Linked DNA regions of Homo sapiens: region 1 is linked to region 2. Evidence: promoter capture Hi-C in 16 types of primary human blood cells and fetal thymus (Javierre and others, 2016). All regions are on one chromosome and are shown on one strand. Each heading gives the region's core, a stretch centred on a gene start or on the middle of the fragment in contact. The rest is flanking DNA. Distances are from core to core; before and after follow the strand shown.

What was found. Contacts are between HindIII fragments. The CHiCAGO score rates a contact against its expected background, and 5 or more counts as called.
Region 1: a contact is called between a fragment that was not itself captured here and the fragment with the promoter of IRF4 in region 2, in 1 of 17 cell types (activated CD4 T cells). The highest score is 12.5, in activated CD4 T cells.

What each region holds. Positions count from the first base shown.
Region 1 is chr6:444,686-451,696 of GRCh38, reverse strand. No RefSeq gene overlaps it. Among named protein-coding and RNA genes, the nearest start is that of IRF4, 56 kb to the right of the region's middle. The HindIII fragment of the contact is 3,201 bases long and covers 2,668-5,868 here.
Region 2 is chr6:386,633-393,345 of GRCh38, reverse strand. It overlaps IRF4 (interferon regulatory factor 4), which reads right to left and starts at 1,594. Exons shown (of 9, transcript NM_002460.4): 1 at 1,537-1,594; 2 at 1-248. The coding sequence starts at 193. RefSeq lists silencers at 438-547, 658-707, 878-927, 1,208-1,277, 1,518-1,907 and 1 more and an enhancer at 3,575-3,624. The HindIII fragment of the contact is 5,232 bases long and covers 1-2,210 here.

The sequences.
Region 1 (7,011 bases), core at 3,019-5,518, 56 kb before region 2:
TCACTTTTTCTCCCTTTATACGTGAAGAAGGTCCTACCTTGAACCCAGCGGCAACCGCATAGTGCCCACAGCTGTGTCCTGGCTAAAGGACTGAGGTCAACCTAGCAGTGCTGGCTTCCTGTGGCTCCTGGAATGGCGTGGCCCCATGGGGTGAACAGACGCTGGGTCCTGGGAACAGTTAAGAAACGGAGCATGGTTCAGGGACCAAGCCCCTTACTGCGGAGAAGCCCTGTGTGCACATCTTCAGCTTCCCGAGCAACAGCATTCAGAATCCGTCCTGCGCTCCTCTGAATCCCCACGTGTCCGCCATTACTGGGTTCTTAGTCTTACTCACAGAATAAAGCAGTGGACCCTTGCAGAGAATGGTGCAGCTTCTTAAAGGCGGCGTGTGCGGGAGCGCGCCCCGTTTGTTCCTTCCTATATGCAGATATGTTAGCAATTTCTGCCTTCTGGGGGGTTCATGGTATCGCTGGTTCACGAGTGAAGCTACAAACCTCCGTGGTGAGTGTTAGAGTTCTTAAGGCAACACACCTGGAGTTGTTTGTTCCTGCCAATACATCCGGGGCCTCTAGCTTCAAATACGAAGCTGCAAACCTTTGGGGTGAGTATTACAACTCATAAAAGCAGTATGGACCCAAACACTAAACAATAAAATTTTTGGCAAAAAGCAAAAAAAAAAAAAAAAAAAAAAAAAAAAAAAAAAAAAACAAAGTTTCAACAGCATAGAAATAGACCAGAGCACGTTACTACCGTTGGCCCGGGCAGCCCGCTTTTATTCTCTTATCTGGCCCCCCCACCCACATCCTGCTGATTGGTCCATTTTACAGAGAGCCGATTGGTCTGTTTTACAGAGAGCTGATTGGTCCGTTTTGACAGGGTGCTGATTGGTGTGCTTACAATCCCAGAGCTAGACACAAAAGTTCTCCAGGTCCCCACTAGATTAGCTAGATACAGAGTGTCCATTGGTGTATTTACAAACCCTGAGCCAGACACAGAGTGCTGATTGGTGCATTTACAAATCTTGAGCTATATACAGAGTGCCGATTGGTGCATTCACAATCCCTTAGCTAGACATAAAGATTCTCCAAGTCCCCACCAGATTAACTAGATACGGAGTGCCCATTGGTGCATTCACAAACCCTGAGCTGGACACAGGGTGCTGATTGGTGTGTTTACAAACCTTGAGCTAGATACATAGTGACGATTGGTGCATTCACGATCCCTCAGCTAGACATAAACGTTCTCCAAGTCCCCCCTAGACTCAGGAGTCCAGGTGGCTTCACCCAGTGGATCTCACACTGGGGCCGCAGGTGGAGCTACTTAACAGTCTTGCGCCGTGTGCCCGCACTCCTCAGCCCCTGGGTGGTTGATGGGACCGGGAGCCGTGGAGCAGGGGGCAGCGCTCGTCGGGGAGGCTCAGGCCACGCGGGAGCCCAGGACACAGTGGGGAGACTCAGGCATGGCGGGTTGCAGGTCCCGAGCCCTGCCCTGCAACCCGGGCGAGAAATCGAGCGCAGCGCTGGTGGGCCGGCACTGCTGGGGGACGTGGCGCACCCTCCGCAGTTGCTGGCCCGTGTGGTAAGCCCCTCACTGCCTGGGGCCGGCCACGCGGCCGCTCCGAGTGCAGGGCCAGCCAAGCCCACGCCCACCCGGAACTGTAGCTGGCCTGCAAGCGCCGCGCGTAGCCCCGGTTCCCGCCCGTGCCTCTCCCTTCACACCTCCCTGCAAGCCGAGGGAGCCAGCGCCGGCCTCCGCCAGCCCAGAGAGGGGCTCCCACGGTGCAGCGGTGGGCTGAAGGGCTCCTCAAGCGTGGCCAGAATGGGCGCCGAGGCCGAGAAGTTACCAAGAGCGAGGGAGGGCTGCGAGCACGCTGTCACCTCTCACCCATGTCACTCAAGACCTCAGCAGCAAATAAGTAGCTGAGCCCTCGCTCCTCGAAACGCAGCCCCTCCCGGTTTCTTGGACTCTGAGTTCCTTTCACCTCCTAACTCATCCCTTGGGTGCCCCAGAGCCCATCCTGGGATCGCAGCAGTTCTCGATCACAGGGTCTCAGGCAGGCCAGGGGATTGGGGCCATGTCCGCGCTGGCCACGCCCAGGCTTCCCGTCTCCAGCCTCAGCTTCCCCTGGACTCTTGGGGTCCTTCTTGCCTCTTGTCTTTCCCTCTCGCCCCCACACCGAATCTATTGACCAGCTTCATTAACTCTACCTTAAAGTCCATCCAGAATGTGCTGGCTGCAGCCCTCCGTTCTCATCTGAGCCTGCAGCGGCCTCCTGGGGCTCTGGGTCCTGCCTTTCCCTCCAGGTGAGCCAGTGGTCCCTTACTTGGAAATTCCTCGTACTCCCTTCTGCTGGGCTCCACCTTGCTCCCTGGGGTCCCAGCCGCCACCTCCCTGCCTCTGGGGATCAGTGAGAAGTCCTCACACACCCACTGGATTCCTCTGTGGCACCTGCCGGCGCCTGGAACCGCATCCCCATGCTTAGGGCCTGTGTGACTCCTGAGCCAAACAGCCCGAGAGGACAGGCCCGGCCCCCACCCATCGCGGTGCCCAGGGCCCGCCAGCGCCAGGCTCAGGGAACACTGGCTGAGCTGGTGAGCTGTGGGACCCAACACGGGGTGCCTCCATTTCCTCAGTTATAAAATCAGGGGGCTCGGTGACTTCCAAGCTTCGATATGAAACCATTTCTCTAGAAGGGTGCTGGGTCACTTTGCTCTGATTGCCTTAACGAGCACCACGCGCTGGGCGTGCACTCCGGGCTTCAGCAACACACGTTTGTTCTCTCACAGTCCTGGAGGGCAGACGGCTTTGAGCCACGTGTGGCAGGGCTGGCTTCTCTGGAGACCTCTCCTTGGTTTGCAGATGGTGTCTTCTCCCTGTAGCCTCGCGGGGGCCTCCCTCTGTGTGTCTGCGCTCTCTCCTCTTCTTAAAGGAGCACCACTCATGTTAGTTTAGGGCTCACCCTGAAGACCTCATTTTAACTCAATTCTCTTTCTAAAGGCCCTGTCTCTAAATGCAGTCACTTTGAGGTACAAGAAGCGTCTTCATCCATTCTCTGTCACTTATAACAGAATATCAGAAACTGGGCAATCTATAAAGAAAAGGAATTTATTTCTTGAAGTTATGGAGGCTGGGAAGTCCAAGATCGCGGGGTGGGGCTGCATCTGGTGAGGGCCTTCTTGCTGGTGGGGATTCTGCAGAGTCCTGGCAGCGCAGGGCATCACATGGTGAGGATGCTGAGCATGCCGGCTCACGTCTCTCTTCCTCTTCCTATAAAGCCACCAGTCCCAATAGCATGATAAACCATTAAATCCATTAGCCCATTAATGCATAAACCATCTATTAAAGGCCCCACCTCTCAAGACTTCCACACTGAGGATTACTTTTCAACATGAGTTTTGTGGGGACAAATCTTCAAACCATAGCATGGGGGTTAGGACTTCAACATATGAGTTTGGAGGGGGACACAGTCAGCCCATAACAGATTATAATGTCACAGCCTCGAGTGGAGCCACAGGACCTCCCGGGGGGACTCAGTGCCAGGCCTCCATGGCAGTGGCCTGGAGGAAGGAGGCAATTCTGAAAGCAACATCTGAATGATGAGAAGGTGGTTTCGAGATTGCTGTGCTTGTGCTTACGAGCCTGTTTATTAGATGATTTTCCAGTAAACCTCCTTGTGAAAACGTGGGGATTTTTTCTCCCATTGTTTTGCTGTCCGATGGCAGCCCAGACAGGTGAGTGGAACGTTGGTCTCACCGCTTCCTCTCCACTGCGGCGCTCGGTGCAGCCCTTCCTCTGGCTCGTTCTCCCTCCCTCCCTTAAATACAGAAATGAGCCCCTGAAACATTACTTCAAGGGATGCTTACTCTGTGGGGCGGCCTGCATTGGAAATTCCTGTGGAGGAGAGAGGGACCAGCCCTGCGGCCTGGGCTGTTTGCATCTGGATCCCTCGCCGGCACTTCCTTTCGGGAGGCTGCCTGGCTTTCTCATTGTGCAGGATCCATCATGCAGACCACTGCTCTCCTGTACTGCATGGTGGAACGCTCCTCAGCACAGTGCTCGCCTCACCAGGGGGAAACTGTGAGTGACCTCAGAAGACAGAATTGCCACGCCAGTAAAAGCCCGCATCCCCCGCCCCCATGGCCTCAGCTAGGGAGGGGCAATGCTGCGCGCTGCGTGGTCAGCAGGCTTCCAGGGGCACCGGAGGCTCACCCGACTGCTGTGTGCACGTCCATCTTATGAGCCCCGCCCTCCCAGCCCCGCAGCCTCTCCCTGGCCTGGACATGCGGTGCCACCCATGAGCACCTGCTGTTTGTCATCCGTGCCATCCATGAGCACCTGCTGTTTGCACCCACACAGCGTCTAGAAAAGGAAGCAGTTCGGGGAGGTCAGGACATGCGCTGGGAAGAGGCAGGCTGGCAGAGGGTGGTCCCATCCTTAAAATGGGGTGCTGGAGAGCCGGGTGAGGTGGCCGGCCCCGTCCTCCCAGCCCAGCGCGCTTGCGCCTGGGTTTCCCCAGCCCCTCCCGGCCGCCTCAGCCCCTGCCTGTGTTCCATGGGGGCTTCTTGGTTTCTTGTAAAAGACACAATTAGAGTAACCCCAGAGCTTGATTCCCACCTCACTTCATAAACACAACAGGGAAATGCCGGTGACACACAAGCGTTCCTCAAACCACCTTGTTTTTGAGCTCTGCAATGGAAACACACCACTTCCTTCCACTGAGTCAGGCCCACGCCTCCCGGCGGCGGGCACCGCCCCCCAGCTGCCTGTGCCATCCCAGCCAGAGCCCAGATCATTCTTTCCACTAAGACGCCTGAGTCTCCTGGTGGAACCCAACCCTTTCAAAGACTGTGGGTTGGTGTGGGGTTTTTTTGCTGTTGTTGTTTGGTTTTTGGTTTTTCTTAAATTGCATAAGACACTAAATAGGTTAAATGAGGTTAGTGGGGTGTGCTCACCTGCAGTCCACATTCCCAGTGACACCCCCCAGCACCCCCCACTGAAGAGACTCCTCTGTGTGGCTGTTTGGATCCACATCAGCGACCCTGAAGCATGAGCAGAAGCTGGACAGGGAGGCAGAGGCAGGGAGCAGCAGGCGCCGGGGGAGGGGACAGACCTGCGCCTTCTTATCGTGGCCGCTCTGAGCAGCCGCCTTGCACTGCTGAGTTCTGCTGCTCCAGGGCTGCCCAGCACTGCAGCTAGAACTTCTCTATGTGGGACCCCAGCACCCCGTACAGCATCCCTTTTGCGTGTGAATAGATGATCCCTGCCTCAACTTCCCCTGCAGGGGCTGCCCCAGCTTTTGCCTCATCTCCCCTACTGCTTCTCATCCTTCCAGGGAGCCAGGTTGGGCTGGGGGAGGGACAGGTCCACCAGGCGGGCATGCAGGTAGGTGGGCAGGTCCTGGGCCTGAGGAAGCAACAAGAAGTGTGAGGGACAGGCACCTGATATTTCCATAAAAAGTGTGACTCAGCACTGAGCCAGGACCCCTAGCAGACAAGCCGAGGGGCTTCCTGCTAGGTCACAGCTGGACTCAGGAGAAGCAGCCGAGCTCAGGGCAGAGATGGCTGTGCCACGCTGGGCAGGGTGGCAGCTCTGAGATCCCCACCAGGCTGGCTGCCCAGTTCCCTCTCCTAGCTTTGTCCCTCAGTCCTCCTGCCCGGCCACCCCGCCCCTTCTGTTCACCACAGCCTCCAGCCCCACCTAGGCACTTCCTGAAAGCCCACAGTGACCCCAGTATTTTCACATCACCAGCACATAGGATGAGCATTGCTTCATTTGGAAATTGCAGTGTCTTCTCCTAGAGGAGTGGACACAGTAAGACCACATCTAGCTTTCAGCATGACTCTCAGAGACCCACTCTGGCCCCAAGCTTCCTGTGACACTGGTGACCTGGAGTCATGGGCTCTAGAGCTTCACAGAAACAGCCCATCATGGGCCGGAGACAGAGTGACCGCCCCCTGTCCCCCCACCTCCCAGATTCCCTAGCTGCCCCACTGGGGGCTCCTCCACTCTGGGATCCATCTTCCGTGCCTCTGACTCACCAGTGCCCCTGCTTTTTCCTACCCGAACCTCTGACTATAACAGGGCTGCACTTCGAGAAAGATATTTCTGTTGCAATCAACCCATTTTTCCAGGGGCCTGAGTGCCACTGTGCCTGCATTTCCCTGGTAACCATTTCTTGAACAGTTCCTATGATGGTTTCTGGAAAGGCCCAAACCAGGGCCCTAAGCAGAGTCTTCAATCCTGTTACCTGTTTTGGTTCCAGAGACTCCACTGCATGACAGCAAAGCTAAAAACCCAGGAAACCAGAAGTGCCAGAGAGCATGTCTTGGAGGTGTGCCCTGCCTCCCTCTGCTTGTTTACAGCCATCCTGATGAATCCCCTAAACTATCACTTCAAACCCCTAAAGGCTGGAGGAAGACAAAAGCAAATGCCACCACTGTTGCCATCTGAAAAGCAAGAGCAGCTCTGAGAGCTCAGCACAACCCATGTTTGTGAGTCCCCCTCGCCTGGCCCAGCCGTTCTCCCTCCACACCACGCCCTGCCCTCCCTGGCACCATCCACTCGCTTCCTCCCCAGTGTTGTGGTTTGGTCTTTGATTTCAAACACACTCAACATCCATTCAGTACATGCTGAGCTGTCATCAAATTCATTCACCACGCATTTGCCTAAAGCCTGCCGTGCGGCGTCCTCTGGAGCTCCTCAAGGCCCTACGCCTGCTGTCCCTCCCTGCAGGGGCCCCCTCGGTGCCAGGCTTGCTCCCGGGGCCACACCTTGGTCCCTGAGGAGGGCTTGTCCAGTGGACAAAAGCACGAAAGGCCTCAGGACTCATCTGCTGCAAGGGGACTCCCCTTAGTAAGCTGGGACCCGGGGCCCACATTGCTGTCCGCATCCACCTGTGTAATTCACGCGATGCCCACCCCAGCTTTGTGAGCCATGTGCTGCTGCACCCCCACTTCACAGATGATGAAAACTGAGGTGCCCCAGGCACCCAGCCGATCAGTGGCACAACTT
Region 2 (6,713 bases), core at 345-2,844:
CGCGGTTGTAGTCCTGCTTGCCCGCGTGCTTCCAGGGGATGCGGAAGATGCTCTTCTCCTCGTTCTCCCACACCAGCCCGGGGTACTTGCCGCTGTCGATCTGGTCGATCAGCCACTGGCGGAGCTTCCCGTTGCCGCAGCTCACCGCGCTCATGCCGAACTCTCCGCCTCGGCCGCCGCCCTCCAGGTTCATGCCCCGCGTGCCGTCCGCGCCCGCGCCCGGGGTCCTCCGCCCGCTCTGCTCTGCACTGCGGGGAGAAGAGCTGCCCTTCAGCCACGAGGCACCGCACTCCGGGCACCCCGCCCCGATCCCCTGCGCCAGTGACCACGAGGCCCCGGAGTCTTTGAGGCTGCGAAGCGCGCGCGTGCCGTGTCAGGGTCGTCCGGGCCCCCGGAAGAAGGCACCTTCGCGGCCGGCCCGGGCGCATCCCCTGGGCGGGCACAGCCGTCCGCCTTCCGAGCTCGGCCCCCGCGAAGGCTCCTACCCGCCTGCTCTCCTGTAACGCACCCGCAGCCCAAAGGCTCCCGACACGCGCCGCTCGTCTTGCACCCTCTCTCCCCACCCAGCCGCCACCCCTCCTGGCCCTCCTTCCGCACTCACTCGCAGCTCTCGCTTGCCTTCGCTCACTCCCAACCCGCTTCTCGCCCCTTCCCCGCGACTCTGTCAGTTTCCACTCCCCTGGCGGCCTCCACGCGCGGAGGACCTCGCCTGCGGCCGGGCGTTCCAGGGGCGCAGCCCCGGGTTCCTCCACCCTCCGCTTTCTCTGCTCGCATCCAGACCCTTCGCCCCGAATAGGACCCCTATCCCTGCCCAGCTAGCGCGCACTAAGTGGGCTCTGCAAACGACAAGTGGCGCAGACGCGGGGGCTGCAGCCCCAGTACGGGGGATTCCGCGCGCAGAGCGTCCGCCGGACCCCGGAGCAGGCCCGGGAGAGCGGAGGCGGGGAGGGCGCGGGAGAGGGCGACGACAGCTGCGGAGCCTGGGAGGCAGGGACCGCGCCAGGCCGGCTAGGCCACCGCACGCAAGGCTCGGAGCGACCCAAATGTGGAGCTCCTCCTCCTCCTGCGCCAGCGGGTGAGCACCGCGCCGGAGGCCGCCGTGAGCTTGGGCCCCTTAGGAACGAAGAGCAGGGGAAGGAGCCTCGGATTGGGGTCCACAGGGCCGGGCCTGTTTCTCGCAGGCAGTTGTGCCGTCTTGTGTGGGTGCCTTGGACGGCCCCGCCTCAGCCACTCCTGGGGCCCCGACAGTCCGGTTAGCTCATCCCGTCCAGCTTGTGGCGACCCCGTCGCAGGAGCGCGGAGGGCAGGCGGGGAGGCTCGGGCAGAGCCAAGGAGGCGGGCCTTGGAGCCCAAACCAGCGCCTCCGGCTCAGCGCAGATGGGGTGGGAGTCGGAGCTCCAGGACGGGGCGCGCTCCCTTCCCGCTCCGAAGCCGGGGTACCCTGCGCTGCCCTGGAGGTCGAACCTCTGGTTCGCGCTCCGGGTCCTCTCTGGTATCAGCCTCACACCCCTCCTCCTGCCCGACTCCAGCCCTTACCTCGCCCTGGACTCGGAGCTGAGGGCAGCGGTGGGTCCCAAGATCGAGCGGTGAAACTGAGAGTGCGAGGTGGGAAAGAGGAACTTTATAGAACTCTCTGGGGCGGGGCCTGGGGCGGGGCGGGGCGCCGAGGCCTGTGGGGGCCGGGGGTTGGACTGGGGAGAGGGACTTTGCAAGCCGAGAGCCGGGGCCGGCCGGGCGGGCGAGCCTCAGGGCCGGCGTGAAGGCTGGGGGCTGCCGCGGCCGGGGTGGGGTTCCCGCGCCCTTGGCGACCCTCCGCGCGCCGCGCCCGGAGAGCGCACCTCCAGCCGGGCGCGCGCCGCTTCGGGGACTGTCACTGGGGCCGTTTCCCGCGAAGGGCGAGGTGCGAAATGCGAATCTCGCCTTTGCGCCAGGACCTCAGGAGGCCAGTCAATCACTAAACTGCAGCGATGTGGCCAGGGCGGGAAATGGGGGGCGTGTAGTAGCGGGAATCTGGTGCGAAGGGGACTTCGCTTTGCAGAGCGTGTAACGGAAGACGGAGGAATGGTCCAAAGAGAACTGGAGGTGGAGGTTGCGGGAGCACCCTCGGCAAGGCCATCACCGGGAACCCTGCCTCTCCGCGGTGTTTAGAGAACATCGCACTCACTAAAAAGAAAATAGGAAATGGCCCAGCTCCCTTGAGCTATTAAGCTTGATTCAAATACTGTCTCTGCGTGTCTGACATGCTTACATCCTTTTGCATCTATTAGGCTGGTGAATTGAAGTGACTCAGACAATGCCCCGGCCCCGAAGTTTTAATTATCTTAGCATGAAAGAGATGGGGGCGGGGAGAGGCTCCCTAAGGATCCAAGTGCTTAATCACTTCCAGACTTCAGTTCACCTTAAAATGATGTCGTTTTAACCTCAACCTGGAGGAAAGCAGTTTACCAGTGGGGTATAAAAGCCCAAAATAGGCCAGGCGCTGTGGCTCAAGCCTGTAATCCCAGCACTTTGGGAGGCCGAGGCGGTGGATCGCCTGAGGTCAGGAGTTCGAGACCAGCCTGGCCAACACGGTGAAACCCCATCTCTACTAAAAATACAAAAATTAGCCGGGCGTGGCCCCAGCTACTTGAGAGGACGAGCCACGAGAATCGCTTGAACCCGGGAGGCTGAAGTTGCAGTGAGCCGAGGTGGGCGACAGAGCAAGACTCCATCTCAAAATAAATAAATAAAAGCCCAAAATAGGAATAATACTTAAGTGGACCAGGGATTTTACATACTTTTCCAAGATGTCCTTAATCGCAAAATTAACCCCCTGAGCTTTCACCCGTTGAGCTTTCGATCGTCTGAGATGCTGAGTATGTGCATTTACTTCGCATTTTCAGGTAAACCATCAGATCTCTGGTTTCTATATGATTTTAGACCACCACCACCGTAGGTCAACCTGCAACTTTTGAAAAGCTTTTGATTTCACTTATTTCTCAGTTTTTGTTTTAATCTTATATATTGGGTCAATGTCTCCTAACCAAAGAAGAATCTATGTTTAGGCTAGAGCAAAACAGGTAGTGAGGTATGGATAGGTATGCTTTTCCTAAAACCAACAGACGTTCTCAGAAATTAACAGGATGCCATTTTTTATTTCACCCAAGTAAGTTTTCCATTACCAAAGTCTATGTAATAAACAACAGGGTTTTGTTCACAAAAAGTTCTGGTCACAACCTGTTTTTCTTCCTTTCCTTTCACAGATTTATTCACTTGACAAATGTATTTTGAGCACCTGCTACTTGTCAGGAACCGTCCTAGGCACTTGGAACACATCAGTGAACAAAGCAAAGATCGTTGCCTTCTTGTTGCATTATATTTTAATCAGTGTTACCTTTCCCTCAAACGTTCACAAACATACCAGAGAGGAGTTTGCTGAGGACAAAAAATGGCAAATGAGAGCTTTTTGCACTTTCGTATACGTGTCCTCTGCACCGGGTTTAGTCATTTTCAACATACCCTCCCCTCACTCATCCACATCCTCTGCTTTTAGTTCAGAACAACAGTCGTTGTGTGAAACTCTGAGCCTTCACACCACTACCTTGTTTTTAAATGTAATTGCTAATCTTCAACGCCATCTTCTGGTTTACTCATTTGCCATATTGATCCACTAGAAGTTATTTTTCTTAATGATGATGTGAATACAAGTAATAAAACATTTTAATCACTAAAACTCCGGATGGCCTCATTACCCGTCAGGGAGGCAGTGAACAGGTAGCAGCTGGCAGTGGTGACCAAGGACTTTTATATCTTAGTCACGATTGAAACAAAAAACGGCAAAGGTTCTCAAATTGAAAAGCTTCCCCACCAAACTCCCACCCCCTCCACACACTGAGACTTGAGAAAATCGGTATTCCTTAGTAAAAGGCTGGATATTTATCAGTAAATGACACAACTTGTTGACAAGCAGAAACTAATAGGAAACCAGTTCATTGAATGTGTACCCAAAACAAAGGCTGACCGTGATATTCCACGAGGAAGTTACTTATTTAGTGAATTATCCGTATGTTGAGGTTGTAGTCGGCACACCATCTGAATGGAGCATTTCCATTTTCAATTTCACATTTATCGTAAAGAGTCTGCAAGAAAAGCTGAATTTACCTCAATTCAGTATTTTAAAAGCCAATCTTTAAAATTATACATTCACATGCAAGTAAAATATTTCAGAAAAACCCATCCTACACACACAAACACACACACTAGATTCTTAAAATCTTGGATAACACTATTTTCCCACTAATTCACTCTTTAAAGGGGGGGGCTACAATTGGCTAAAAACAATGCAACTGTATCCATAAAGAAATATAAAGGGCAATCATTTTTAATTACCAGAAAAAATCAGGAAAATACTGAAAGTGCTATTTTCATGTAATTTATATAGAATATATGTCTCTTCTAATCCTCTTTGGTTATATGTGTTTGCAAATCTAATTACTGGCCATGACACATTGCATGGCCAAAAGGTAGTATCATTGGGGATTAAATAAGTGCTTGAGTTTTTAAGGCTGTGAGGCCTTGGGAGAGCCATTTAACCAAAGTCCTACTTCTGGGTGTACAAGGAGGGTGGGGGTGTCCCTGCCTCCCAGCAGTGTTTGTTGTGATGATGAAATGATGCTTTGCGCAATGCCTGGCACATCATCATGTTCAACAAATCAGGGCTATTATCATTTACTACGCACTTCAATACTTAGGGGTATCTCACGGACTTTCACTCATTTGGCCCCCAAACCAAACCTGGCAGGCAAGGAAGGCGGGATTCAGCCCAAGTGTAGGGAGAACGAAAGAGATTGTGAGAGGTCCAGATGGCTGGCCCAAGGACACAGCTCTGAGGAACTATTTTTTCTCCTTGTACACAGGGATTGGCTGCATTTGGCATGACTATTTCAGAATCAGCCTCTGAGTGCAGGCTGTCATAGGAGGGGGAGTTTCATCTCTGGTCAGGTCAGTGTGGGTAAGAAAGTCTTCCCTGGCCTCATCCTCCGCCCCTGTGAAGTGGAGGCCGGCGGCAAGTGACCACTGAATCCTCGTTTAACCCTAAGTAGGTGTTTTTTTCTTTCTGTTGCAACTTAGGATCATTAATGGCTGCCTCGTGGCCTTTTTGGTTATGGTAAATTCAGAGTAAGGAAAGCTGCATTTTATTTTTAAGCCATGGATCTAACCATTGACCTTCACTTTATTCTTCTTCACAAGGCTAAATTCTCTTTGAGGAAATGAGAGAAACCTGGTGCTGCCTCTTAGCCACTCTTCTCGAATGTTTAATCCTCTGGAAAAAAAAAATCTAACCTTCTAAGCTACTTATACCAGAGAGGAGTTGGGATGGAACACTCTGGAAATGAGATTATATTATAAATGCTCTCACTGCACACTCAGTTTAAAATAATTGAATGTTATTTGAAAAGTGATAAATTCTTTGGTAATAGAATACAGAGCATAAACCTGGATTTTTTCAAGTAGAGCTGTACACATTTTCCTAATTTAATTAGCAGAATGCCCTGAGTGCCTTCAATGAGAAAATTTGCAGAGCTTCGACAGTAAGCATTCCCAGGGCACAGGGCGTTCAGGACCAGCTTGTGATCTCTTTGAGGGCAGAGTTAGTAAGCGGGGCTTTTTCCTACATGCAGAGAAGAACCCGCTTTCAGGCTTGTAGGAAATGAGACTTGTGATTGTAATCGATGACGTAATGAGAAGCCAAGGATACGAGGTGATGTCTCCTTTCCCTGTTTATAAACAGCTCTTCCCTTTTCGCCTGCTCTTCTTGCCAGCATTCTAAGAAGAGTCCTGGCAACACTTCCCACCTCTCTGACGTGTCATGCTCTCTACAGAAACAGTGACGTGGCTTTACACAGGGCCAGTTGACACTGCCAACTCCTTAACCAAGCCAATGAAAACGCAAATGGTTTGCAATACCTTTGGGCAATTTTCTGAAAACTGAAGCAAGAGGTGAAAGGCAAACGGCTTTGTCTAATTCCACCCATTTGTAACAGCGCCTAATGTTGGGTTATTCTAAAGTTCATCAACGGCTCTTTCAGCGAAATTTTGTGAAACAGCATACCGTCACTTGTCACACATAAGACTCTAGGCATGCTGGATAGAGGAGTGTATCTTTCTAGAAAGGTTAGGTTATGCTGTGGTAACGAGACCCCCTGAGATTCTGGGGGGGGGGTTACTTCTTGTTCAAATGAGATATCCATGGCAAAGCCACGGGGATCCGGAACATTCCTGGCCACCTGATGGAGAGAAGGGTACGGGAGAAGCATGTGCTGGCTCTGTTAGTTCCTGCCCGGCAGCGAGTTACATGGCTTTGGCTCATATTCCCCCGTAATAAGGTAAGAACTACAGTAAAGGAGGAATTATCTGGCCATAGTGTGGGTACCGCCCGAGAGAGAACAATGGCCAGGAGGCCGGGGAGGCCTCGGGGTGAGGTAGAGAGCTCTCAGACGGGCAGGTGCATGGGTGGCAGAGGAGGGAAGGACAAGCAGTTATGGGGCTGAGTAGACGTGCTCGGCAGGGGGTGGGGCGGTCGGGGAGTCAGGGGTTGCTGGAGGGTTTCCAGGATGGGGAATGACACAGGAGTCCCCTGTATCCACCGTTTCCCTTTCCACAGTTTCAGTTACCTGAGGGCAACCTCAGTCTGAAAATAAGAAATGGAAAATTCCAGAAATCAACACTTTGTG